Linked DNA regions of Homo sapiens: all the other regions are linked to region 1. Evidence: promoter capture Hi-C in human tissues and cell types (Jung and others, 2019). All regions are on one chromosome and are shown on one strand. Each heading gives the region's core, a stretch centred on a gene start or on the middle of the fragment in contact. The rest is flanking DNA. Distances are from core to core; before and after follow the strand shown.

The links. The method cuts DNA at HindIII sites, captures the fragments that hold promoters and counts their contacts. A contact is called where the count stands out against the background at its distance.
Region 2: a fragment that was not itself captured here is called in contact with the fragment with the promoter of PTPRM in region 1 in 1 of the 25 tissues and cell types used here (dorsolateral prefrontal cortex).
Region 3: a fragment that was not itself captured here is called in contact with the fragment with the promoter of PTPRM in region 1 in 2 of the 25 tissues and cell types used here (lymphoblastoid cells and mesenchymal stem cells).
Region 4: a contact is called between a fragment that was not itself captured here and the fragment with the promoter of PTPRM in region 1, in 1 of the 25 tissues and cell types used here (lymphoblastoid cells).
Region 5: a contact is called between a fragment that was not itself captured here and the fragment with the promoter of PTPRM in region 1, in 1 of the 25 tissues and cell types used here (lymphoblastoid cells).
Region 6: a fragment that was not itself captured here is called in contact with the fragment with the promoter of PTPRM in region 1 in 1 of the 25 tissues and cell types used here (mesenchymal stem cells).
Region 7: a fragment that was not itself captured here is called in contact with the fragment with the promoter of PTPRM in region 1 in 2 of the 25 tissues and cell types used here (heart left ventricle and mesenchymal stem cells).

What each region holds. Positions count from the first base shown.
Region 1 is chr18:7,565,845-7,569,223 of GRCh38, forward strand. PTPRM (protein tyrosine phosphatase receptor type M) reads left to right here and starts at 1,472. Exons shown (of 33, transcript NM_001105244.2): 1 at 1,472-2,047. The coding sequence starts at 1,975. RefSeq lists a silencer at 1,153-1,522. The HindIII fragment of the contact is 7,623 bases long and covers 1-3,379 here.
Region 2 is chr18:8,460,424-8,463,802 of GRCh38, forward strand. No RefSeq gene overlaps it. Among named protein-coding and RNA genes, the nearest start is that of RAB12, 150 kb to the right of the region's middle. The HindIII fragment of the contact is 5,330 bases long and covers 1-3,379 here.
Region 3 is chr18:8,242,805-8,246,183 of GRCh38, forward strand. It overlaps PTPRM (protein tyrosine phosphatase receptor type M), which reads left to right. Exons shown (of 33, transcript NM_001105244.2): 15 at 1,254-1,405. Among named protein-coding and RNA genes, the nearest start is that of RAB12, 360 kb to the right of the region's middle. The HindIII fragment of the contact is 4,817 bases long and covers 1-3,379 here.
Region 4 is chr18:6,909,127-6,912,505 of GRCh38, forward strand. It overlaps ARHGAP28 (Rho GTPase activating protein 28), which reads left to right. Exons shown (of 18, transcript NM_001366230.1): 18 at 2,934-3,379. The coding sequence ends at 3,028. Among named protein-coding and RNA genes, the nearest start is that of LINC00668, 19 kb to the right of the region's middle. The HindIII fragment of the contact is 3,345 bases long and covers 132-3,379 here.
Region 5 is chr18:8,218,439-8,221,817 of GRCh38, forward strand. The region is part of intron 14 of PTPRM (protein tyrosine phosphatase receptor type M); the gene reads left to right. Among named protein-coding and RNA genes, the nearest start is that of RAB12, 390 kb to the right of the region's middle. The HindIII fragment of the contact is 4,468 bases long and covers 1-3,379 here.
Region 6 is chr18:6,925,890-6,929,268 of GRCh38, forward strand. It overlaps LINC00668 (long intergenic non-protein coding RNA 668), which reads right to left. Exons shown (of 7, transcript NR_034100.1): 2 at 2,962-3,079; 3 at 2,231-2,330; 4 at 768-1,695; 5 at 551-669; 6 at 183-336. It also overlaps the pseudogene SCML2P1. Among named protein-coding and RNA genes, the nearest start is that of LINC00668, 2.3 kb to the right of the region's middle. The HindIII fragment of the contact is 4,461 bases long and covers 1-3,379 here.
Region 7 is chr18:8,175,837-8,179,215 of GRCh38, forward strand. All of the region lies in intron 14 of PTPRM (protein tyrosine phosphatase receptor type M), which reads left to right. Among named protein-coding and RNA genes, the nearest start is that of RAB12, 430 kb to the right of the region's middle. The HindIII fragment of the contact is 3,418 bases long and covers 162-3,379 here.

The DNA.
Region 1 (3,379 bases), core at 222-2,721:
ATGTAAGCTCATATTAACAAGCAAATGATTAATATAGAGACTTCTAAAGAGCAGGTCTGGTAAGTATCTAGTAAGTGGACTTCCTGAAGTAAGAGGAGTGTTGGTTGCCACACTAAAGGCAAGTCTTCTAGTCCCCAAATTTGCCTTGGGAGGATGACAGCTGTATCTTTCTTGGTTCTGGTGTACAGTGGAGAACAGGGTCAAGATGAGTGTGGAATCCATTTATTTTTTTACGTGTTTATAAGCACTAGAAAGCAGTGAGCACTAAGCAGAGGACCCCTCTTGCGGAAAAAGTGCAGGAGAGCTCCTGGGTGCCTCTGTATCACCGGTTTGCCTTCTAGCCAGAATCATTGCTAGAACCCTGTCACTCAGTTACTTTGGTTCCTAATTTAACCTCTTCCCAAGCCTTCTATTGCGTTCAGTTAGCTAGGCCAGGAGCTTACAGCTGTCTGGTTGGTGCTGGCTCAATGTGCTTATTCCCTGGAAGATAGAAGGATCACTTACAAAAAAATTTACAATTAAAATAAAAAAATTATTTTTTGCTGAAGCATTGTAAGGTTTTTTTAATTCACTCAGACCCAAAATCGTAAAACTAAAATATTTCAAGACATTACTTGATTCACCCCCCACTTCTCTTTCTCCCCTGTTTCTCAGCACTTTGCACCAGATACAGAAACCACGGGTTATGTCCAAACCCTGGTTTTGGTGTGACCACCGCCTTCCGTGTACTGCCTGCGGCTCGCTTCGGGCCCACACGGGACACCGAGGCATGATGAGGACGCAGAACAGCAGAAGCGCGCCCTGCTTCCCGGGCGCCAGTGCTCGGGGCCAGCGGCGTGTACCCGGCGGGCCCGGCCGGGAGCGGGCTGGCGATCGCGGGGCTCGGCGCTCCCGGCTCCCGCGCCATCTCCCGGCGCCCGCCAACTTCGCTCCGCCCGCGGCGTAGAGAAGCTCGCAGCCCTCCGGAGCCTCAGCGATCTCCTGGCTCGCTTTTCCCGCAGCCGCCGAGCAGCGCAGGCCCGGCGACTCCGGGTGCAGCTGGCCCTGTGCGGTGACATCGCCGTCCGGCGCCAGGCTCGAAGCCGCCTGGCCGCGCCCGCGGGGTCGCAGGCCGCTGGTCCCGCCCGGCCGCGCTCACAAACTACTCGCGGCTCGTGACCCGGGACAAACTTCTGGCGGCGGCGCAGCCTCTTCCACAGTCACCCTCCCCAGAGCCAGCTACCAAAATAGAAGACGCGGCCGGGGCGAGGAGGTGGGCGGGGGGAGCCCGGTGGCCGCTCCTCCCCGCGCGGCTGACGCCCGCTTCGGCGGCGGTAGTGGCTGTGGCCGCGGGGCCGCCCCCAGCCGAGCTCCCGGAGGCGCTCGGGCGCGGGCCGGCGGGGCACGGGCGCTCACGCCCTCTAGCGGGCCGCGGCGGCGCCGGGCGGCCGTGACGTGAGCGCTCCCTTCAGCCGGCCTGCGGGGCACCGCCAGTCAGTCGGGGAGCAAGAGCCCCGCGCGCAGCCGGCGCGGGCTCGGTCATCGGCGCGCCGCCGCCCGGGGCTGGGCTTGGGGCTGCCTGTGGAGAGGCGGCGGGCGGAACGCGCGCGGCCACGGCCACGGCCACCGCCACGGCCACGGCCGGCAGCTCGGGTCCCGGGTCCCGGGCAGGGGAAGGGGAGAGGCGGCGAGCTCAGCAACCGGAACCGAGGGAAGATTTTGGCTCCGCGGGCTCGCCCTCCGCTCCCTCTGCCAGCGGCGCCAGACGCCGAGTGGGGCCAGGGACAGGGGAGGAGGACCCAGGACCCTGTGCCCGCGCCCCTGGAGCCGCTGGAGTTCGGACTTCTGCAACTGTTGGCACTTTGGGGGCTTGGCTTAGCGCTCTGCTGTTTACCCGTCTCTCCTCGCTGCCTCGGAACCAAAGCTCCCGGCCCCCTCCGCCCTCGCGCGCCCACCCACCGCCGCCGGGGAGCGGCCCGGCCCGCACTCAGCACCATGAGGGGACTTGGGACTTGCCTGGCGACTTTGGCCGGACTTTTGCTAACTGCGGCGGGCGAGACGTTCTCAGGTAAGCGGGACCGCCTCTGCCGCCCCCGAGGCGCGCGGGCCGGCGCGGGACGCCCGGGACGCCGACAGCTCCCTGGTGGTAGAGCCCTAAGGCTGGCGTCGGGGCCGGGCGGGGGGCGCGGCGGGCCGGACACCGCTTCTGCCTGTGAGCCGGGCGCTGGGCGAGGGGCCGTGGGGCTGGCAGGCACCCAGTCCTCGGGCGGGCGGAGCGGACGGACCCCGAGGGCGAGCTCCCCAGCCGGGACTGCCAGCTCGGCCGCCGTCCTTCCGCGGCCTGGGCTAGTGCTCAAGGTTGGGCGGCTTGCACTCTTGAGTCCCTGGCCGGCTGCAAAAGGAACAGCAGAAAACTTTGCTTGAAGTTCCCAGTTGCAGCCGCCGGGCCGCCTGGCGTAGGCGCTGCGCGGTCCCCGCCGACCCCGAGCAGCGGCCGGGCCCAGGCCGCTGGTGTTCGGCTGCGCCCGCAGCGATCGCCGGGAACTGGCGGCCGCTCCGGCGGCGGCGATCTCCCGGTGCCCTGCCCTCCCTGTCGCCCCCTGCCCGGCGCGGCTGGCGACCCCGGGAGGTCCCCGCGGTCGTGCAGCGTCTGCGGAGAGGCTGGGGGGAGTTCCTCGCCGGTCCCAGCGGTAGGGCTTGGCGGCCGCGGAGGGAAGCGGGCAGGTCCCCAGGCCCTGGCCACGGCCCTGCGCCCCGCTGGGCTCCCCCTCCCCACCCTCGTCCCCCTAGCGGAGCGCCGCGGCCAGCTGCAACTTGTTCATCCAGCCCGGCTGCCCGGGGGTCCCAGGTGGGAAGGAGAGGCACTGGCGGTGTGCGAGCAAGCGTGTGAGTGTGTGCGCGTGTGTGCCTGCACGCGCGCGCGGGGGCGTTCTAAGCCCAGAGGAACCCCTCACGGAGAGGATCTGTGGATCGGAGTCGGGGGTCCGGCGTGGGGGCGAACCCGGCACGCTGTCACAGGGGTTTACAACCAGGATGACCTTTATTACCTGGGTGACACAGGTGGATAGACGGCAAATGCTGGCCCATTTGCACACCTTCTTTCTAGTGTTTATTAGATTAGTTTCATTAAGGTCCACATGCAGTGGGGGCGGTGGGCTTTCTTTTTCTTTAATAAAAAAGCCTGCTCTTTGGTCTTAAACTTGGTTTTTGCAAAATAGGTCTCTGCGTTTGGGAACAAGTGAGTTGAATGAGTAAGTTGGGCTTTTTAAGAATTTAATGAAGAGGACTTTCATAAACAGTAAAGAGCATATTTTAAGCAGTAAAAACCTTTGGTCCTCCGGTGCGTGGAAACCTTTTTATTTTCTTGGGGTCCAGGACCATTGGCTGCTGGAGCTCTGGA
Region 2 (3,379 bases), core at 567-3,066, 890 kb after region 1:
CCTCTTTATAAAAGGTTTAGTTTTACCAAAAGAGTGGTCTTTTTCTGTTTTTGTTTTTGAGAAGAATCCATTTGTCTTTAAGTCATATTTAACAAGTTTGAATAACCAAATTTTTTCTTAAAATTGTCATTTACCAATAGAAGTATTAGATACAAATGTTGGAATATAACTTCAGCTTTTGAAAATGTTTCCACGCAAATGAACTCTTTCAGGGTCACTGTGTAATCTGTCATTCTCCAAAGGGGACACCATCACAGTCATTGAGCTAATACTCTCCAACCTCAGAGCAGAAGTGAATGATGAAGAGAAGTCTCTGGGCATGGTTAATATACTTCTTGGATATGAAGGTGAAATATACAATATTCCATTTTAGCTTTTGAGAACTTTTGTGGAGTATGAGTATGTGTGTGTAAGGAGAAGAGAGGAGGTAAATTTTGCTTAGTTTTGCCAGGCTCATGAAAATAAGTTACCCAAAGTACCTGTTGGAACTTGGCTTAATTGGAAAGTGAGTCACAAATAGGCATTTCCCAGGGACACAGGCCCAGAAGGCTGACTGCTCAGTCCTAGGTGAGCTCCGTGAATGGTGCTCTAAACTCCTCATGGCGCTGAGGCATGAGAACGAGGACATCTCATACACTTGTCTTTCCTTTATTACATCACTAACCGTGTTCCTCCTGGAGATTACCATATCTGAGAAAACCTGAAACCTTTTTGATCGCATGATAGATGTAATCAGTGAATGTTCCTACATGGAGAAGCTGGCTTTGGAAATCTACTGGCTCACTGTGGTAAAGACTGATTCAGGGGCTGCACTGACCCTGCAGCTCAGTGGTGGGATTGTTGGTGGGGTTTTGCTTAGTTTGTTTTTTTGAAATAGAAAGGAATAAAAATATTCCATTAGTCATTTGTAACTTGGGAAGGGTATATAAAATAAAAAAAAAAGATTAAATGAATTTCATATTTATATGATGACCAGTTAAGAGTGACAGAGAAGTCTTGAGGCCATGGGAGGTAGAAATAAAGAGAGAAGGGTGAGGAGGAAGCATGAGCCTAGCCACAGGGGGGCCTCAGATGTAGACTGAGAAGGATGGAGACAGACATATACATATGAGACTGTCAGAATTTATTGTTTAGAAAAGCAAACAAAAACTGGTTCAATCTAAGCCTAATGCTCAAAAGCACAGCAGTGTGAGAATCTTCTCTCTCCATCTTTGGAAGGGAGCAGTGATTGGAACTGGGTGTGTGGGGAGCTGCAGCATCCCTGATGTGTGGGGAGCTGCAGTATCCCTGGTAAAGCCCTTCCTGAGGCCCTGTCTTGTTGCAACACTTGTAAAATGCTGCCCTCTCTAGGAGCCCTCCACCGTCTGGAATCAAGTGAGGGGCTATGTCAGCTGCAGGGTGGTTGGTTCCAGAATGTGTAAGGCACTGAATTTTGAACAAATGAGCAAAAGACCGTTTTTAATGGCTGTTAATAAAAAGTTACCATGCTTAGATGTTAACACAGGACTACTGTCAAAAGACAACTTACAAAAAATTTAAACATCTTACTTGACTTTTATGTGTGATTCTAGAATTGGGAAACACCTTGTTCTATAAGATAGAAAGTGTTCCAAAGAGCTGAGCAGAGGAGCTTGGTTTTCTAGACAGGGCTGAGGAAAGCAGAAACAGGGAACAGACAGCAGATTGGCTATTTCAAACTTACTTTTCTTGTGAAGGTTCAAGCAGAGGGGACTTCCTTATGCCACTAGAACTGGCCTGTTTGGGGATTTGACTATCACCTCTCTCTGTAACTTCTTGGCATGCTGAAGATCTTAGTTTCCACTTGGTGGTGTTGAATTGGCAGGAGTGACTCCATTTTGTCTGGTCCGCTGGGCCTGGTGCGGGAGCTTAGTCCAAACCAATGACCTTCCATAAATTGTATCTAACATGACTAACTACGACGTAAGGAAAATTGTCTAGGTAGAGGAAGATCTTTTCTTCTTTTAGGTGGCCTCTGTGTTGTTTTAAGAATGGATCCAGAGGCCCCAGGCTCTGTACACAAATTAAGAAGCCACACATTTCCAACCTCTCCTAGAACTCAAATGAAGACATTTCAGCATGGATTCCCTGAAAAGAAGGACTAGACACCTCATCTTGGTAGTTCATTTCTGCACACAGTATTTCTAGATCCTGGAAAAGCATTTCCAGCATCAGGGTTTGGGGATGGGATCTGAGGGTCACCTGGAAGACAGGAGTCCCCTGTGTTCCCAAGGGTGATGTCCCTCTAGTCCTGCCTGTCGGCCAGCCCAAGTGGCCAACCCACTCCCCCATGTTTAACATGGAACCTGCCTTTCTCTTTTCACAATGCCCCCTCCCCTACTGAGGTCCAGAATGTTCTCATTGAGCGATCTGTTCCTTTACTATAGGACTTGAGCCGTCAGTGACTGGTGACAAAAAACTCTGAGGATGGGCTTTGTGAGGGAGCCGGAGGCCAGGCGGGAGGCCCCCACATGGCAAGTCTACTCTTCCCATTTCACCTGCTTCCCCTCTCTCGGGCGACTTTGCACTTTGGCCCTGCCCTCACCACAGAAGGGACAGCTGGTCTGTGTTTCCACTAGGACCACAAGCAATCAGAATAGCTTGCCTCCTGGGTCAGTCCGCTGGTCTCTCTTCCTGCCACTGAGACTCTAAGACCCGCCCACTGTAGTATAAAAAGGACACAGAGCTGCAGAGTTGGAAATGGCTAATCAACTGGGTGCGGTGGCTCACACCTGTAATCCCAGCACCTTGGGAGACTGAGACCGGAGGATGGCTTGAGTCCAGGAGTTTGAGACCAGCCTGGGTCTCAAATAGTGAGACCCTATCGCTACAAAAATATTAAAAATTAGCCGAGCATGGTAGCTCACATCTGTAGTCCCAGCTACTCAGGAGCTTGAGGTGGGAGGATCACTGGAACCCAGGAAGTCTAGGCTGCAGTGAGCCATGATTGTACCACTGATTCCAGCCTGGGCGACAGAGCAAGACTGTCTCAAAAATAAATAAATAAATAAATAAATAGAAATGGCTGATCAGAAGCAGTGGCTCTATATGCTTGAGTGAGCCAGATGGGACAGGGAGTGGGTGAGACGAGGCAGTGAGCAGCCCAGGAGCCCCGAGGGTGACCCAGGAAGAAGGAAGAGCAGGGAAGGTGGCCCTAGAGAGCTTTTGCAGTTCCTGCCAGAGACACAGCTGCAAGGCTGGATTTCGAGAAGCACATTTACTTCTATGATTGCCTCCCACCAGCTGGTTGGTGATGCCACTCCCCTCTCAGTGTCTTTACCCAATAATCTGTAAAATGGGGATAATGATCCAGCCACATAGCCAACTTACCAAGCCACCAGGGGCCACACAGTTCTTTAAA
Region 3 (3,379 bases), core at 537-3,036, 680 kb after region 1:
TGCCTTACATTGCATTAGCAATCACCTAATATGAGTGTGATTTTGATTATGTGGTTCATTTTAAATTCTGTGTCCTAGGTCAATCAGTGTCAAGATGATTTACTAGAAGGAGGTGCGGTTTTCTTTCATAGATGCTGTTAAGTGCTTGGGCACAATTAGAATATTTTAGGGCATAGTATATTTGGTATTATCGTGCTGTGGGTGTTCTTAAACCTTCTCACTGTATACCTTCTCCTTAGGCATCTCTAATTCTCATCTTGTCTGTCTTGGGTACACAAAACAATCTCTGGTAGCAAGATCTATAAAAATTTGTGTTACCTGTTTATTTATGTTAGTTTCCCTTTAAGTCTTCTGGCTTTTGTACAGGTGTCAGTCATTTTAGATGTTGAGTTTTTGATGGTCAGCGAGCAGGATGCAGAGGCCAGGATTAACCTATGTCTCCAAAAGAATTAGAAATCTCTCTGCTTTTTTTTCATTCTCTTCCACTGAAAGAGGGAACAAAGAAGCCTTACTCCTGCTGAACGTTGCAGGGAACCCAGCGACATGACATTTTTTAACCTTCTGCTCTGTAGGGGTTGACAAAACTTGATGGGAACTAATCTGGGTTCATTTGGGATTTGGGACAGGGTCATAGCCTTTTGAGAATTCAGTACCTTCCCCTTGATCCTCCTACAGCCTGAGCTCTCTGAGCTTTGTAGGTTCTGTGTCAGGTTCTGCTCCCTGTATGAACATACTCCAATTATACGTTCTTGACTCCTCACCTAGTTCTGTTCTTTAGTTTTAACAATGTGCCTTTTAGATTCATCTGTTATTTCATTTTTGCTTGGAAAATATTTACTCAAGGGAGTCTTCTCTTTGACACTGTATATGGTGATGTTGACAATAATTTCGTAAAAACTTAGTAACTCTAGGAGTGTAACAATTAGATTATGATTGTGTTGTACTAGAATCATTGGTCATTTTAATCTAGCTTATAATAGGAGAAACAGTGTTTTAGGCTGTGGTGTTTTATCTTTCTGGTTGTTTGGGGTTTTTTATTTTGTTTTGTTTTTTGAGGATAGACAGTACCTGTTTTTCATCTCTGTGTCTGCAGCCTGGCAGAGTGCTTGCCACAAATAAGGCACTATACATCCATCTCTGAATGAATAGGATTAATTCAGTAGATGTTATTCCTGAACATCTGTCAATATACATGCCAAAGCTCTGTATCCCGTTCAAATGCATGCCTACATAATTGAATTCTTTATCCTAAGGAAACTGGCCAAGAAGCGGAAAGAGACCATGAGCAGCACCCGACAGGAGATGACTGTGATGGTGAACTCAATGGACAAGAGCTATGCTGAGCAGGGCACAAACTGCGACGAGGCTTTCTCATTCATGGACACGCACAATCTGAATGGGAGATGTAAGTGCATATGTTTCTTGGCTTCTAACACATCTCCTTGGTTTTGCAAGATTCCAGGTGGTACTAGGGGATTTCAAAAAAAAAAAAAGCTTCCTGAAGAAATTTTTATGCCGTGTTGGTTTCTTCAGTCATTTTCAGTGATCCTTTGTGCCACAGGTTGCTTAGCAGAGATGTTCTAAAGGTGATAGGACCAGATCAGAGAGTCCAGAAAACCACAGTGCAGTTTCTGTAAAGATTTAGAGAGCAGTGACACGAGGCTTTCCTTCTTTTGAGGAAGAAGGCACCTGCTTCTCATCATCCTTCTTGTTGTTTAGATCCCATTTGTAAACTATCCAGGTGTGGAATTACACATGGGAAGCCTGTTATAAAAACAGTTCACTAAATGGCAGTAACAAGTTAATTGTTTATTTGTTTAGATGACAGGTTCTGCCTTTATTATAGGGCTGTCAGTGTCAATTAATAAATTAAACTCTATTTCAGCTTCACAAGTCTTATGCTTCATACCAGGTGTGTAAACCAACCTCAGCTACTGCCTTCCCATACTACTACCTGTGATCCAGGTAGAAGGCATTATTTTAGGAAACTAACAATTAGATTGATTATATCAAGCACAAAAGGAGTAGTTGCTTTGTCCCTGGTAATCTCGGAGACCAGAGGGAGATACCTCACTCTGTGGTTTAGGGCACACTTTGGTGAGTTCAAGGTCGGGGGTTTCTTTACTGTGTGAAATCTGTGCCTCAGGCCTGAGCTGCATAACCAGGATTCTGGTCAGCATGGGGATGGAATTAAAGTGCAGCTATTCCTGTTACAAAAAAATAATCGTAGTATTTTAAAGGCCGGTGGGCCTTGTGGCTGTGAGGAGCACAGAAATGGCATCTGGCGTGGGGCGACTGGGAGCAGTTTGGACGGTGTGGGCTCATGTCCTAATACCCACTGTGGTCAGTGTGGTACTGCAGCTCCCCTCCACTCCTCCTCTTCCAGATCACAGTGTGGTCAATGCACGTGCCTGTCCCTGAGCTTTGCGTTTCTCGTACACGCGGCTGAGCTCCGAATTCAGTCTTACATTTTTCTGCTTGTAGCGGCTGCAGTTGTCCCACTTCATCCTCCTCCATCAGTTTGTACTACACACACACATGGCCCAGTGGAGCATGCACAGGTGCTGCTTTGGCACCAATGGGCAGGGCAGCACTGTTGCTTTCATCCTTGATCTTCTTTCTTTACCCTTTCCTGTCATTTTCAGTGCAGGAAATAGAAGCTATGGGGTCTCAGTGTACCCAAGCTCCTTCCCATTTTTTCATAGAGTTCTCTCTGCTTTTTTTGTGGCAGATATAATGTTTTTCATTTAAAAATATGTATGTATAATTTATTTAACTGCCATAAGAAAGCAACCTATGATGCATTCGTTGTGGGCTGGAATTGGAGAAGCCCTTTTGGCCACACACAGGATTAGAATTTTTGTAGTAGCAGGTATTCCTTGAAGGGGACCACACAGATACATCTTCATTTTGCAGTATAACCCATTAACGTTCCAAATCTTCTATTTCATGGTGAAATTCCTCAAGAATCAATTTACTTAGAATCACTCATCCCAAAAGCAAGAATCTTCTTTAGTAGTTCTAGGTGTTTGAAGTTTGAACAACAAGAATATTCACTTCTGGACAGGAAGTTTAATTTGGCAGTTACTTTTTTGAAAGTGAATGTATCTGTGGAAATCCAAAAATGTTCATGTACAAACGGCAGCTGCAGAGGCCAACGGAGCTTCCACAACTGATCGGCTATTAGACGTTATTTTTTGCCTTCCTTCAATAAAGCCAACAGAAGGAACACAGCAGTAGACTTTCCATTTTCCTCCCACTCTGAGCAATGAGTTCTCATCAGATCTCATCTGATAGGAGCGACCCTAGAGGTAGATATCATAATACTGTCTTGATGTCTTTGAAATAAGACAGCAGTTTCTGGGGAGGAAACCTTCAG
Region 4 (3,379 bases), core at 554-3,053, 660 kb before region 1:
AAACTAAAAATCAGTAGGTTTCTGATATTTTTATCTCATGTGGGAACAGTTGCACAGCTTTTCTAAAATGTTTTCAAAATTTAAATGAGAATATTTTAATGTTGATATGGAGTAGGCTTGGGTCTTTTCTTTTCTTTTCTTTTCTTTGCTTTTCTTTTCTTTTCTTTTCTTTTCTTTTTTTTTTGAGACAGAATCTTGCTCTGTTGCCCAGGTTGGAGTGCAGTGGAGTGATCTTGGCTCACTGCAACCTCCGCCTCCCGGGTTCAAGTGATTCTCCTGCCTCAGCCTCCCTAGTAGCTGGGATTGCAGATGCCCGCCACCACGCCCAGACAATTTTTATATTTTTAGTAGAGACGGGGTTTCACCATGTTGGCCAGGCTGGTCTCGAACTCCTGACCTCAAGTGATCCACCCGCCTCGGCCTCCCAAGGTGCTGGGATTACAGGTGTGAGCCACTGCGCCTGGCTGGCTTCGGTCTTTTCAGTGTGATTTGAAGTTGGAAAGTCTCTCTGGAGACTCTGCAAAACAAAGAGAATACTGTAAGAACTTTCAGAAGCATGACACCATTTTGATTAACTTCCCTATTTTAACTCTCCTCCCAAATTCATTCTTTCTATTTCCCTGGGGGAGCAGGGGAGGAATCAGCAAAACTTCCCCGCTTGGTCTGTGAATATCCTCACAGCCCCATGGGTGCTCCGTGCTCCCACTGAGGGCAGTGCCTCCTCTCACCAGCACCCTCCACTCTCCCACACCATCAGCCTTTCCCTCCCAACTGTAGCATTTCCATCTGCATTTTAAAAATTGGCAATTTCCCTCACCTTTATAAAATTATTTCTTCACCCCCCTTTAAGTCTACTCCCATTTCTCTGTTCCACCTTACAGCAAAAGCTTCTTGAATCAGTGTCTACGCTCCAATTTCTTCCTCCTTGTTATCTCTTGAAGCCACTCCAGGCACACTCTGCCCCTCAGCACTTCACCAGAATCACCCTCTTGTCATGGTCACCAGACAACTCGTCTGTTTTTAGAACTGCCTGAGTTGATCTTTCCCTCCTTTGAAGAACACTTTCTTCACCTGACTTCAAGGATGCCCTAAGCTTCTGACTGTCTTCCCACTTTTCCTAGCTGCGCTGCTGGAGACCCTGTGCCCCTTATTTCTTGTCCTCTCAGCCTTTCAAGGTTGGAGAACGGTAGGGTTCAGTCCTCGGAACTCTCCTGTATTTGCACTTGCCTTCCTTGGCGAGCTCAATCCATCTCACTGCTTTAAATACACCTGTATGTGGATGCCACTGAGATTTCTATCCCACGGGTCCCTTTAAACACTAAACCTGTAAATCCAATCACCTGACAGGGTTGGATCTGGGGCCTCTGCATTTGCTCTGACTTTTCCCCAGGATGCCCTCCCCCCAGACAGCCTCACTTCTCAGTCCCTGGTCTCTGCCAGGTCTTTGCGGATAAATCAGCCTCTCAGCGAGACCCTCCTTCCTCGCACCCTCCCGAACATGCCTTCCATGCTTGGTCTTTCTCTCATGTTCTTATCACCAGTGGACTTACTTGATATCATGTTTGTTTGTTAGTTGCCTTGTGCTGCTCTTAGACATGGCTGTAAACCCAGCCCCTAGAATAGTGCCTGGCGCATTATTAATATGTGGTAAGTGAATGAATCAAGCAACCTAGCACTCACACAGCTCTTGGTAGTTTTGTTTTTTTGTTTTGTTTTGTTTGCTTTGTTTTTTTTTTGAGACGGAGTCTCGCTCTGTCGCCCAGGCTGGAGTGCAGTGGCGCGATCTCGGCTCACTGCAAGCTCCGCCTCCCGGGTTCACGCCATTCTCCTGCCTCAGCCTCCGGAGTAGCTGGGATTACAGGCGCCCATCACCACGCCCGGCTAATTTTGCTAGAGATGGGGTTTCACTGAGTTTGCCAGGATGGTCCCGATCTCCTGACCTTGTGATCCGCCCACCTCGGCCTCCCAAAGTGCTGGGATTACAGGCGTGAGCCACCGCGCTCGGCCAGCTCTTGGTAGTTTTGTTTGAGACTTCAGCATACATTTCAAGCACACTGCACGTAAAGACTTTCGAATACGTTTGCCCCAGGAAATGATCTTTTAGTTGTTACCATTTTGGGATTTCCTGCCCATGGGCTTTACGTCCATAGTAAAGAAACAAAATGACCATTCCTAAAATGAACTTGACTTGAATCTTCTCTAGCTCTGGTCAAGTACCTATCTATAAAACCACTGGAGGACATGTATTAGCATATAAATGATGAGTTTATATGCTAATATACCTGAAACAAGTTCTTGCCATATTTTTCTTTTCTTTTCTTTTCTTTGAGACGGGATCTCACTCTGTCACCCAGGCTGGAGTGCAATGGTGCGATCTTGGCTCACTGCAACCTCAGCCTCCCAGGTTCAAGTGATTCTCCTGCCTCAGCCTCCCCAGTAGCTGGAATTACAGGCGCCTACCACCACACCTGGCTAATTTTTGTATTTTTAGTAGACATGGGGTTTCACCATGTTGTCCAGGCTGGTCTCAAACTCCTAACCTCAAGTGATCCACCTGCCTCAGCCTCCCAAAGTGCTGGAATTACAGGTGTGAGCCACTGCGCCCAGCCCTTGCCATAATTTTCTAATTGATGCCATGAAGCAAGGGAACAATTTGCCTGTGATGGTATGTCTGCTTTCTTCCAAAATTTCACATGAGATTTGTTTGATATACCCATACTTCACAGTCTTAAAGAAAGAAAAAAAAAAGAAAGGAGAGAGGGAGAAGAGGGAAGAAGAGTTTGTTAAGAAACCTTAACATATGTCTACTTACTTTGGCCAAGAAAACTATATTAACCTTATTTGAACCTCACAAACACACACAGACACATATGTGTGCGCACGCACACACACACAAATGTACACTAATTCTCTGATCTTTCTCTTTCTTTTAGGAGAGCATTGCTTGGATCCAGATGCTTATATATTGGATGTATATCGTATAAATCCTCAAGCAGAATGGGTGATTAAACCCCAACAAAGTTCTTAAAATATCCTCGAGAGAGCTGCTATCATGTATTATATGCCAAAAAGATCCTACATTTTGGTAGGGAAAAAACAACACTGTGTTTGACGTATTTGTTCCTACAGCATTCTCAGTATTTCTGGCCCTCAGCAGTGGGCATTGTAAGCATGAACTATGGAAGAGGCGCCGGTTCACCAATTCAACTGAAGCTTTCTCATGACTTTTTTTTTTATAAAAGTAAAGGAAAGATGATGTGGTCCTTCCAGAAGAAAGACCAATCTAGAATATGGAACTCTAATCACTTCTAGTATTTCAACTTCCTAGCAGAAATGAACTTGGCCCTAGACCTAGGGATAAGCAATGTTCTTTATGTAG
Region 5 (3,379 bases), core at 346-2,845, 650 kb after region 1:
ACACTGTGCCTTGTGGAAGACTAAGGGAGTTAAATTGAATAAGCAAGATGAATGGGGAGACAGCACCACAGAGGCACTCAATTAGTTTATAACTGTCTATTAACTTCTGTAGGTGGTTTTGAATAAACAGCAGATTATCTGTTGCACTCTTGGGGGACAAGGGGAGCCATGGGAGAGGGTCAGTGTAGCGCTCAAAGGAAAGAGATTTTTTGATTCTCAATTGCCCTCTGTCTTCTCCTTTCCTACTTTTGTGCATGAAGCATGGGTAATGGTTGTCAAAACCTTCTACATGTTTAAAACTTACACGCATACAAAGGAGCAGTGCCCGCCTTGACATTTCTCTTGGCAGTTCTTGCATGGAACACTGGTGTGATGCCCCCAAAGAATAAGTTGAATTTAGGTTCTTTGGCTACTTTTTCAGAACATGTTCTTGGGAAAAGAGTAGTAACTCTTGGTTCTTAGAACTCAGGAAGATAAAACCTCTCCATGAATGATCATAGCCAGGATTTCTTTCCAGAGAGGGCTGAGAGTGTGGAGGGAAACTGATGGAGCTCTCTGCATCATGCAGTACATCCTGGAGACTTGCAGGGCGTGGGAAGTCCCCTTGCTTCCAGTGAAGGCATTGTTTCTAGCTTCAGTGTTTATGCAAGTTCTAATCTCCTGATGCTTACCTTAGAGTACATTTAGGAACCAGTGCTCTGTTAATGGAAAAACTAAATTCTAAAAGATTTTTAAGAGGCTTATTCTGGCCAAGCCCGGTGGCTTACGCCTGTAATCCCAGCACTTTGGGAGGCCGAGACGGGTGGATCATGAGGTCAGGCGATCGAGACCATCCTGGCTAACATGGTGAAACCCCGTCTCTACTTAAAATACAAAAAATTAGCCGGGCGTGGTGGAGGACGCCTGTAGTCCCAGCTACTCGGGAGGCTGAGGCAGGAGAATGGCGTGAACCCAGGAGGCAGAGGTTGCAGTGAGCCGAGATCAGGCCACTGCACTCCAGCCTGGGTGACAGAGCAAGAGTCCATCTCAAAAAAAAAAAAACTTATTCTGAGTCAATATGAGTAACCGTGGCCCAAGGAAAAACAGTCTTAAGAGATCCTGACAAAGTCAAGAGAGTCAGATTACAGTTTTCTACATTTTGGAGAGGAAGGAGTTACAGGCAAAGACATAAATCAATACATGGAAGATATTGATTAGTTTAGCCCATAAAGGTGGGATATCTTGAGGTGGAGGCTTACAAGTCAATAGATGGATTCAGAGATTCTTTAATTTGCAATTGGTTAAAGGAACAAAACTTGGTCTAAAAACTTGGAGTTAGCAGAAAGGAATGTTTTAAGTTAAGATAAGCATGCTATGTCAGAGTCAGCCACAATATGACCTGCTTAACAAAAGCAGTGGCTTGCAGGCATGACTTAACCCTTGCCTTAGGTATTGTTTATAATTTGATATATCATTACCACAAAGAGTATGTTTAGTCAATCTTATGATCTCTATTTTAACATTAATGCTGGTCAATTATTGTGCCTAAACTCCAAAAGGGGGCGCTATAACGAGGTGTGTCTGACCTCCCCATCACATCCAGGAACTCAGGAAAATTTTTAAGATTTTTCTGAGTTCCTCTTGGCTACAAGTCAGTGGGGAGCTTAGGATTTTCTTTTACCGCATGGTACAATCACTAGATCATTATAAAGAATTGCAAATTTTAATGAAATTGCTGAAGAAACATGGTGAGAATTAAAGGGGAAGGAGATAAAAGATTAGAGATGAAGGAAAAAACAAGACCAAGAAGATGTGGAAACTATGAGTGATGACTTCCGAACTTTAAAGTATTTTTAGTGCTTCTGAATTTATGTCCTTCAAACTGTGTACCAACTTGCTTTTTTGAGCATGCAGACATTACATAATGCAAGCCATTTATCAGAGTTCTTTTACATAGCACAGAACAGTCATAAGATACTCTTACTTTTCAACACACATACACACACATATATCCCACAAAGGGATTCATTTTTCTTTTGCTATTTTGAAAAGGCTGAGAAATGTATGCCTCCACCAGCAGGATTGGGGCATTCTTTATGTGAACCTGTCCCACTTAAAACCAGTTGTCAAGGAGAGAATCAAGATAAAACACAGTGTGTGGTGGGTGGATCCACTAAGTGAGGAAAGCTTATTAGGAAAGAGTTAGGAAAGCTGTAGTTCCTCCTGAATAAGACTCCTTTGAGAAAAAGAGCCAAGACTTAATCTAACTCTTGGGTATCTGTTTTGACACCTGTGTCTGTAATTGCTGGTTTGCTTTGTAATAGGGGTGTTTTCTTTGGTCATCCATTGAATTACCTTTAATTCAATTACCATTGAATTACATTGAATCGATGCTCTTAATACCTAAGTTTTCTTTGAGCTAAATGTAAGCATTTATGTGCTGATGGATGTTATTAAACCCTACATCTCCTTTATAATCATTCATGAGATCCATCAGCATGAGGGCAGTTTCTTCATCAACAGACTGTACAAAACCCTTATGAGGTAAGATCTCAGTGAACAAAATGAGAATAATCAGATGAAATAATAGTCAAGTGATTGCCCTTGAAAAATAGAGGCACTTGATACAACTTAGACTTGAAGTCTCTTTTTTTTTCTGTTTTTCCTCCCACTAAACTATTGCAGATTTGACAGGGTGTTTATTTTGCAAATATGATTGGAGGGATTTGTCAAGGAAGACTAGGATAGCAATGGTCATGAAGAAAAGCATTATCCAAATTATAACCCAAAGTTTACTCACCCATTTCCCTGTGTTCCCTGGCACTTTGTGGAGCCTGTATTGTTGTCGCTGTGGGGGTTGGTTTCACATGCCGTCTATCCCAGTACCTGTGAGTTTCTCAGAGGCCAGGGCTGTCATTGTCACCCTGCATCCCAAGTACCTAGCCCAGTGCTGAGCTCACAGGGGATGCTTATGCAATGTTGAATGGATTGTTAAAAGAAAAATGTTAGACAAATTAAATTTAACAGAGTTTAATTGAGCAAGGAAAAATGATTAGTGAATCAGGCAGCCCTCAGAATAAGAGCAGATTCAGAGAGAGCCAATGCTGCCATGAGGTTGGAGAAAATTTATAGATAGAAAAACGAAAGTGACACACAGAAGACAAAAGTGAGGTACAACAGCTCCATTGGTTACAGCCTGGCATTTGCCTTGTTTGAACAGTTGTTTGCCTGTGAGTGGATGAAGTCTGGTGCTGAGTTTGTCTGGGGCTCGGCTATTGTTACAGAAGCACACTCCTAGCTCAGGTTTTCAGTCCGCTGATACTAAATCAAGTTTAGCCTAAACCTTCCTCCTTACATATTTTAATTTTGGCCTACAGATTTCCCTGTGCATAGTGAACTG
Region 6 (3,379 bases), core at 511-3,010, 640 kb before region 1:
TAAGATAGGGAAGCTAAAAGCAGACCTGGGGGTATGCCTGCAGCTGCAGGAAGATGTATGGAAACAGACACACAACTCCCTCCCAGATAAGCACACCTAAAGAGACACAGAAGCAGTCCAAGCCTCTGATAAACTCTCCCACCCTGAATCCTTAAAAACTCTTAGTCTGTAAGAGAGCATGCCTCTGATCTAACTCAGCCAGAAGCCACTCTTGGGTTTGTTTTCTTTAAAATAAACCTGTCCTCGACCATCAAGCCATTGTGTTTCTTTCCTCTTTCTTTAATTCTTACACACTGGAGCCTAGGGAAAGGATCATTCTCTGCCCACTTCCATTACCTGAGAAAAGAACGCCAGAAAAAGAAGCCATGGGGAAAACATTAAGATTTGTAGCCAGGCATGGCAGCTGATGCCTGTAATGCCAGCACTTAGGGGGGTTGAGGTAGAGGATTGTTTGAGGCCAGGAGTTTGAGACCAGCCTGGGCAACATAGTGAGACCCTGTCTCTACAAAAAAAGTTTTTAAATAAATTATCTGGGCCTGGGGGCAAGTACCTGTAGTCCCAGCTGCTTAGGAGGCGGAGACGGGAAGATCCCTCGAGCTCAGTACAGCTCAGGCTGTAGTGAGCTATGATGGCACCACTGCATTCCAGACTGGGTGACAGAGCAAGACCCTGTCTCAAAAAAAAAAAAAAAAAGATTTGTAGACTTTTGTAGACTGTCAAGAGGGACATCAAAAATGTCTCCTGTGAGGCCGGGCATGGTAGCTTACATCTGTAATCCCAAGCACTTTGAGAAGCCACCGCGGGAGGATTACTTGAGCCCAGGAGTTCGAGATCAGCCTAGGCAAGATAGACTTTGTCTCTACAAATAAAAATAATTAGCCAGGCATGGTGGTGCAGGCCTGTGGCCCCAGCTCCTCAGGGGACTGAGGCAGGAGGATTGCTTGAGCAGTCCTCAGGCAGTGGAGGCACCAGTGACCTGTGGTAACAACACTGCACTCCAGCCTGGGCGACAGAGTGAGACCCTGTCTCAAAAGAAAATAAATAAAACAGAATGTCTCCTGTGTAAAATGACAACTTCCAGTAGAACAATTATAGGAAAGATACAGGATCTTTCTGTTCTTTCCACAGTATCTCAGATTTCAGACCGCCCAAGATTCCTCTAGCTAATGACTTCACAGTTGGTAACAGCGAGTTAACTTCACAATGTTTCTTCAGCATCTATTATGACAGTTCTTGGAACTATACGTGCCAGATTACAGTTCACACCTGGTGGTAGTGACAATGGAAATGCCTTTAGGAGGCTTGCAGATCCCTTGGACCCAGAAAATACAACTTTTTGAGACATATGGGAGAAAAAAGAGGTTTTTACATCAGCTTTCCCTGGGGTTCCACGAACACTAAATGAATCTGAAGACACACCTTCAACATTCTTTAAGAAGGAACCATGGAAGCCAACCTTGTATTGTTTAAAGAGAGAATGAAACTTGAAGCAACAGACAGGAAGAACCCTTATCTGATCTGCTCCGCAACTATTGGAAACATTGAAGGAGACAGTTTACACTACAGTGGATGGGAGTGGTGGCTTAGGCCTATAATGCTAGTGCTTTGGAAGGCAGAGTGGGGAGAATTGCTTGAGGGAGAGTTCAAGGTTGCAGGGAGCTGTGATCCAGCCTCAGCAACAGAGTGAGATCCTGTCTGTAAAAAAAGAAAAGAAAAAAAAGTTTACATTACATTTGGAGACTAGAGAGGAGCTTTTGAATATTGCTATGATTCTTCAGATAGTCTCCTAATTGGGTAGGTTGTATCGCTTGACAAATGTCTTACAACCATCAGAAAATAATGCTCCCATTACAATAAGTAGAGCGAAAGCACAATCTTCTCCTTCCCGTGTGGCTCAGCATTCAATGCAGGCGAGAAAACTCGCCCAGTAACTTGGGTCAAGAAATCAGGTTGGGATAAACCACCTGCATAACTTTCCTCCCCACGAAGGAAAGGTTTCTTAAAAATGATTCCCTGACAAAGGTCAGCATTCGTAATTAAAAGAGGCCCAAAATGAGAGAAAAAGGAAAAATTGTCTTCCTGTTTTGTGTTCTCCTCCATCTCTACTTATGTAGTTGCTAGAAAGAGACCTTGGCCTTCCACTAGATCAGGGATGACGTTGCCGAGACCATGACTGCAGCAATGTCTGCAGTCTGTTTCTTTGCAGACAAACAGGGGACTCCATACTCACCTGCTTCAGAAGAGAGCCCAGCAGCTGCCCACCTCCCGCTGGCCCCGTGGGTATGCAGCTCGGTGGACCATGCAGACCTATGTGGATTGTGCCTTCCGAGCTGTGATAGAAGAGTTAAAAATAAATTATTTAGGCAGACAGAATAAGGAAGTCCTTGGTAAGGTTTTCCTTTTAATGAAAAGCATTAAAAGGAATGCCCCAAATCATTTTCTTTTCTAACAAAGAACAACCTGTAAAATCAAGCTGCAGGCACAGACAAGCAAGCTGGAAGCTTGCATAGGCTAATACTGGTGGTTGTGCCAACAGAGAAAGGTTACCTGGGAATAGACACGTTCAAAACGGTGGCTCCATCTTCTCCTGTCTTTGCCACCCGCGTGTATAGTAAGGAGCAGACAAGATGGTACTGGCCAAGTAGAAAGCCCATTTGTTTAATAAGATTAGGGTGGGACGACCAGCCTTCCCCGAGCGCTATGTAAACGTCACACCTGATCAGACCAATCTGTGGGCCCTGTGTAAATCAGACGCCGCCTCCTCAAGCCTGCCTATCAAGTCTGCTGTGGTCCACCTCAGGCCGGCTTTTTCCCTTTTGGATGCCTCTCTCTAGAAAGAGAGAGAAAGCTGCTCTCCTCTCTCCTTTCTTCAGCCTATTAAAATTTCCGCTCCTCAACCCACTCACATGTGTCCATGTCTTTAATCTTCTTGGTGCAAGATGGTGAACCCCAGGTATTTACCTCAGACAGTGATGCTGCTTCAGCTGGACGGCTCTTGAATGCCTCCATAGAGGAGACGTGGTCGCTGCCTCCTCTGGTGGGGAAAAACATTCTACCTCCCTTCGGTGGTTAACACCTCCTCAAAATAAAAATGGTAAAAGCCAATCAGCAGAGGCAGACATACTGATGCTCTCAGAACCCTCCATCATATGCCACTCCTCTCTCACCTAAGGATCCCACAGAGGTATATGTACCACAGGCAGAAATATTGTCTTATGACGACAGACATGCCAGAAGAGCAGAGGCTTTCAGAAAGCCACCAATTCAGCAAACTAACTCTCCGAGCATGGACTGGGGAAATTCCTCAGCTCTCTTAACTATAGGAATTATTTTCAGCCTGTGTCAGCTATGCTGAGCTCATCCCCAGTTCTGAATAAAC
Region 7 (3,379 bases), core at 621-3,120, 610 kb after region 1:
CTCACCGGCAGAGAATTAGGTTTTCTTGCTGAAAATGTAAAGCAGATTTATTTATGAACTGTCTGCCCCATGCTGCTGTTTTCTGACTTGCTTCTCATTCCTTAGACGCTGAAGCCTAAAGAACAAGCATGTGCTCTTCTTATGACTAAAAAGTGGTTCAGAAAGCAGCATTTTAAGAGTTAAAGGCTTTGCATTGCTAACTGAGAGAAGCAGTATTCACAAAGTATTAAAAATTAAAGATTTAGTCCATCTAATGTCAAATTGGGAAATTTAAAAATTTATGAGCTTATATTGTTAATAGTTTCCTGAGGGAAAATTCATCCAGTATTTGGAGCGATTAATGAATTGCTTGTTGTATGGCAGTATAATAGAGAGAGAGAGAGAGAGAGAGAGTACAGTTAGACATAATATCGAAGTTATTTTTGGAAACAAGCTAACAAAGAAGGCTGTGTAATCTCTATCTACTGCAATCTCAAAAAATAGGCCGAATAGCCATCTATTGCCAGTGATTTCAGAGGGATGTGCCTGAAGGCAGGGAGTTGGATCTGGTGACTTCTTAAGTCCTTTCCACATCTCTCATTCCCTTAATTATTCATCAAATATAAACACAGACAATGTGATTTTCTTTATTCACAATGTCCCTGTGTGAAAAAATATATGTATACATATGTAGGATTCAGTACTCCTTTTATAGAACATTGCTGTCAACTATTAAGCTTAACCCAAAAGAAAGTTCTCTGTTAATAAGAGAACCAAAGTGCACATCATCCCCAACAGGATGGCAATTTATGATGTATTTTGATCGTCCACATGACTTGCAGGAGAGTCTGGAAGAAAGGTCATGGGAAGATTAACTGCAGGCGCACCCGGTTGGTACTGAAGCAGGATTTTGCTCTGATTAGCAAAGCACTGAAGGCCAGTCAGGGAAAAAGATCAAGGTCAGTGACCTTCCAGAAGGGAAGTCAACCTCGGCAATAATAAAGGCTGCCACTCTGTCAGGACTCCAGTCTCATGCAGAGTTGGTGACTAATATCCTTCACTCTAGCTTGAAAGCCCTGTTGACAGTTTAGTTCTAATTATTTGTGGATCAGATTGAGCAGAAATACATCTGCTTCTTTTCTATCTTGTCTTTTGACCCTCCTTTTTTCTGCCCTTTTAAAAAATGTGCACTGATTTCTCAATTATGTTTTTACTTTTTTCATATTTCTTCTGTCAACCCCATTTTCTCCTGCCTTTCTGAGGGGATGTGTTTTCTTATTACTTGTTCAAATACTGATGCCTTTTGGAAAAAGCTAAATGACTTAAGTATTTTTTAACCTTTATAAAAGTATGAGAAGCATATTCTTAGAATCACAGTGTACACTTTCTCAGCCAACCATTCAACCAATAAAGTAAGTAGTTTCTTTAGTAATTCTTTGCAGTTTCCACACCTCTTTGTTTATTCATTCAACACATTTTTTGAGAACCTACTGTTAAAATAAAAACTTTAGACAAATTAAATTTAGCAGAGTTTAATTGAGCAAAGAATGATTCACAAATCTGGCAGCCCTCAGAACCAGAAGAGGTTCACAGAGTTCCCCTTCACAATGCGAGACAGAAGGCAGGTACAGAAAGGCTGGGCTGGTTACAGCAGTGTTTCCCTTATTTGAAAGTGATCTGATTAGTTGGTTCCTGTGATTGACGGAAGCTCAGCTGCTGTGATTGGCTAAGGCTTGTTATACTTGTTACAAAAGTATACTCCTCTTAGCAGCAGCAAATCAGTAAGTGTTGGGAGCAACCTCAATTCTTGCCTCCTCAGAAGAAAGAATTCAACCCAGGGGCATAAGGCTGAGTGAGAGAATGAGGCAAGTTTTAGAGCAGGAATGAAAGTTTATTGAAAAGCTTTGGAGCAGGGAGGAAAGTAAATAGAGTACATTTGGAAAAGGGCCAAGTAGGCAACTTGAGAGGGTCAAGTGCACGGTTTGACCTTAGATCTGGGGTTGTACATATTGGCATGCTTCCAGGGTCTTGTGTCTCTTCTCCCCTGATTCTTCCCTTGGGATGAGCTGTTTGTATGCACAGTGGCCTACCAGCACTGGGGAGGGGCTGTATTCACAGTGTGTTTACTGGAGTTGTGCACATGCTCACTTAAGACATTTTTCCCTTAGCAGTTGAACAATTCTAGAAGGTCATATACCAGTTAAACTCTGCCACTTTGCCTCTTAGTGTGCATGCTTGAGCCCACTTGCCCCACTCCTGAGATCTTATTGGGAAGCTGCTGATCACCAGTTTCAGATGTTGGGTGCATGGAGTTGCTAGCCGATTCTAGTATGTGCCTAGAATTAGAATATTAATCCAAATTTTTACATTACCCACCCTCTCGTTTCTTCTGAGCTATAGCCAGAGATCATTGGTTTGTTCACAGGAATAAGCAAGGTTAGTCTAAATTGCAGACAAAAACTCAAAAAGAACTGATGAGACTAGAATCTTTTAACAGGTTTGCCGTCATTCTTGAAACACAATTTTTCTCCCTCCAATCTCCATTTTCATTAAAAACAAATCATGATAGGACTGATTTGTTTGCAAAATAAGCTTTAGTCTTGTTATACTTGGCCTGATTATTTGCATAAATCACAGCAAGAATAATTATTTGCCACATAGGCTCCTTTTAAAATTGGCTTTGATGGGCTGGGCACGGTGGCTCATGCCTGTAGTCTCAGCACTTTGGGAGGCCGAGGCAGGTGGATGAACTGAGGTCAGGAGTTTGAGACCAGCCTGGCCAACATGGTGAAACCTCGTCTCTACTAAAAATACAAAAAAAACTAGCTGGGCATGGTGGTATGTGCCTGTAATCCCAGCTACTCGGGAAGCTAAGACAGGAGAATCACTAGAACCTGGGAGGTGGAGGTTGCAGTGAGCCAAGATCGCATCACTGCCCTCCAGCCTGGGCAACAGATCAAGACTCCGTCTCAAAAATAATAATAATAATAAAATAAAAAATAAATTTGGCTTTGATGGAACTTTGTTCCATTAGGATCTCAGATAAAATGTTTTAAAGCCATAAGCCTAGCTGTGGGTTTGTACCATCAAATACCTGTATGAGTTGGGTACATTCCTCACCTCTTAAGGTCCCAAGATAACTTGGTGCTCCTAGGCCTGTGAGAAAGTGATATTCTTTACTTACCACAGGTCAGGAACACTGTACAGGGACTGCATACAGAAGGTATGAGGCCAGCTTTCCCAAGGGACTTTTATTATCTCTATAAGTCAGATTTGATTCCTTAAAGGAAAGCATGCCATTCCATTCAAAGCCTTGGTAAAACAACCAGTTTCTCCAATTGTGTCCTGCTGCGAAAGAAGTCAGATTATTACTGCACTTATGCAAATAATGTAAGTTAAC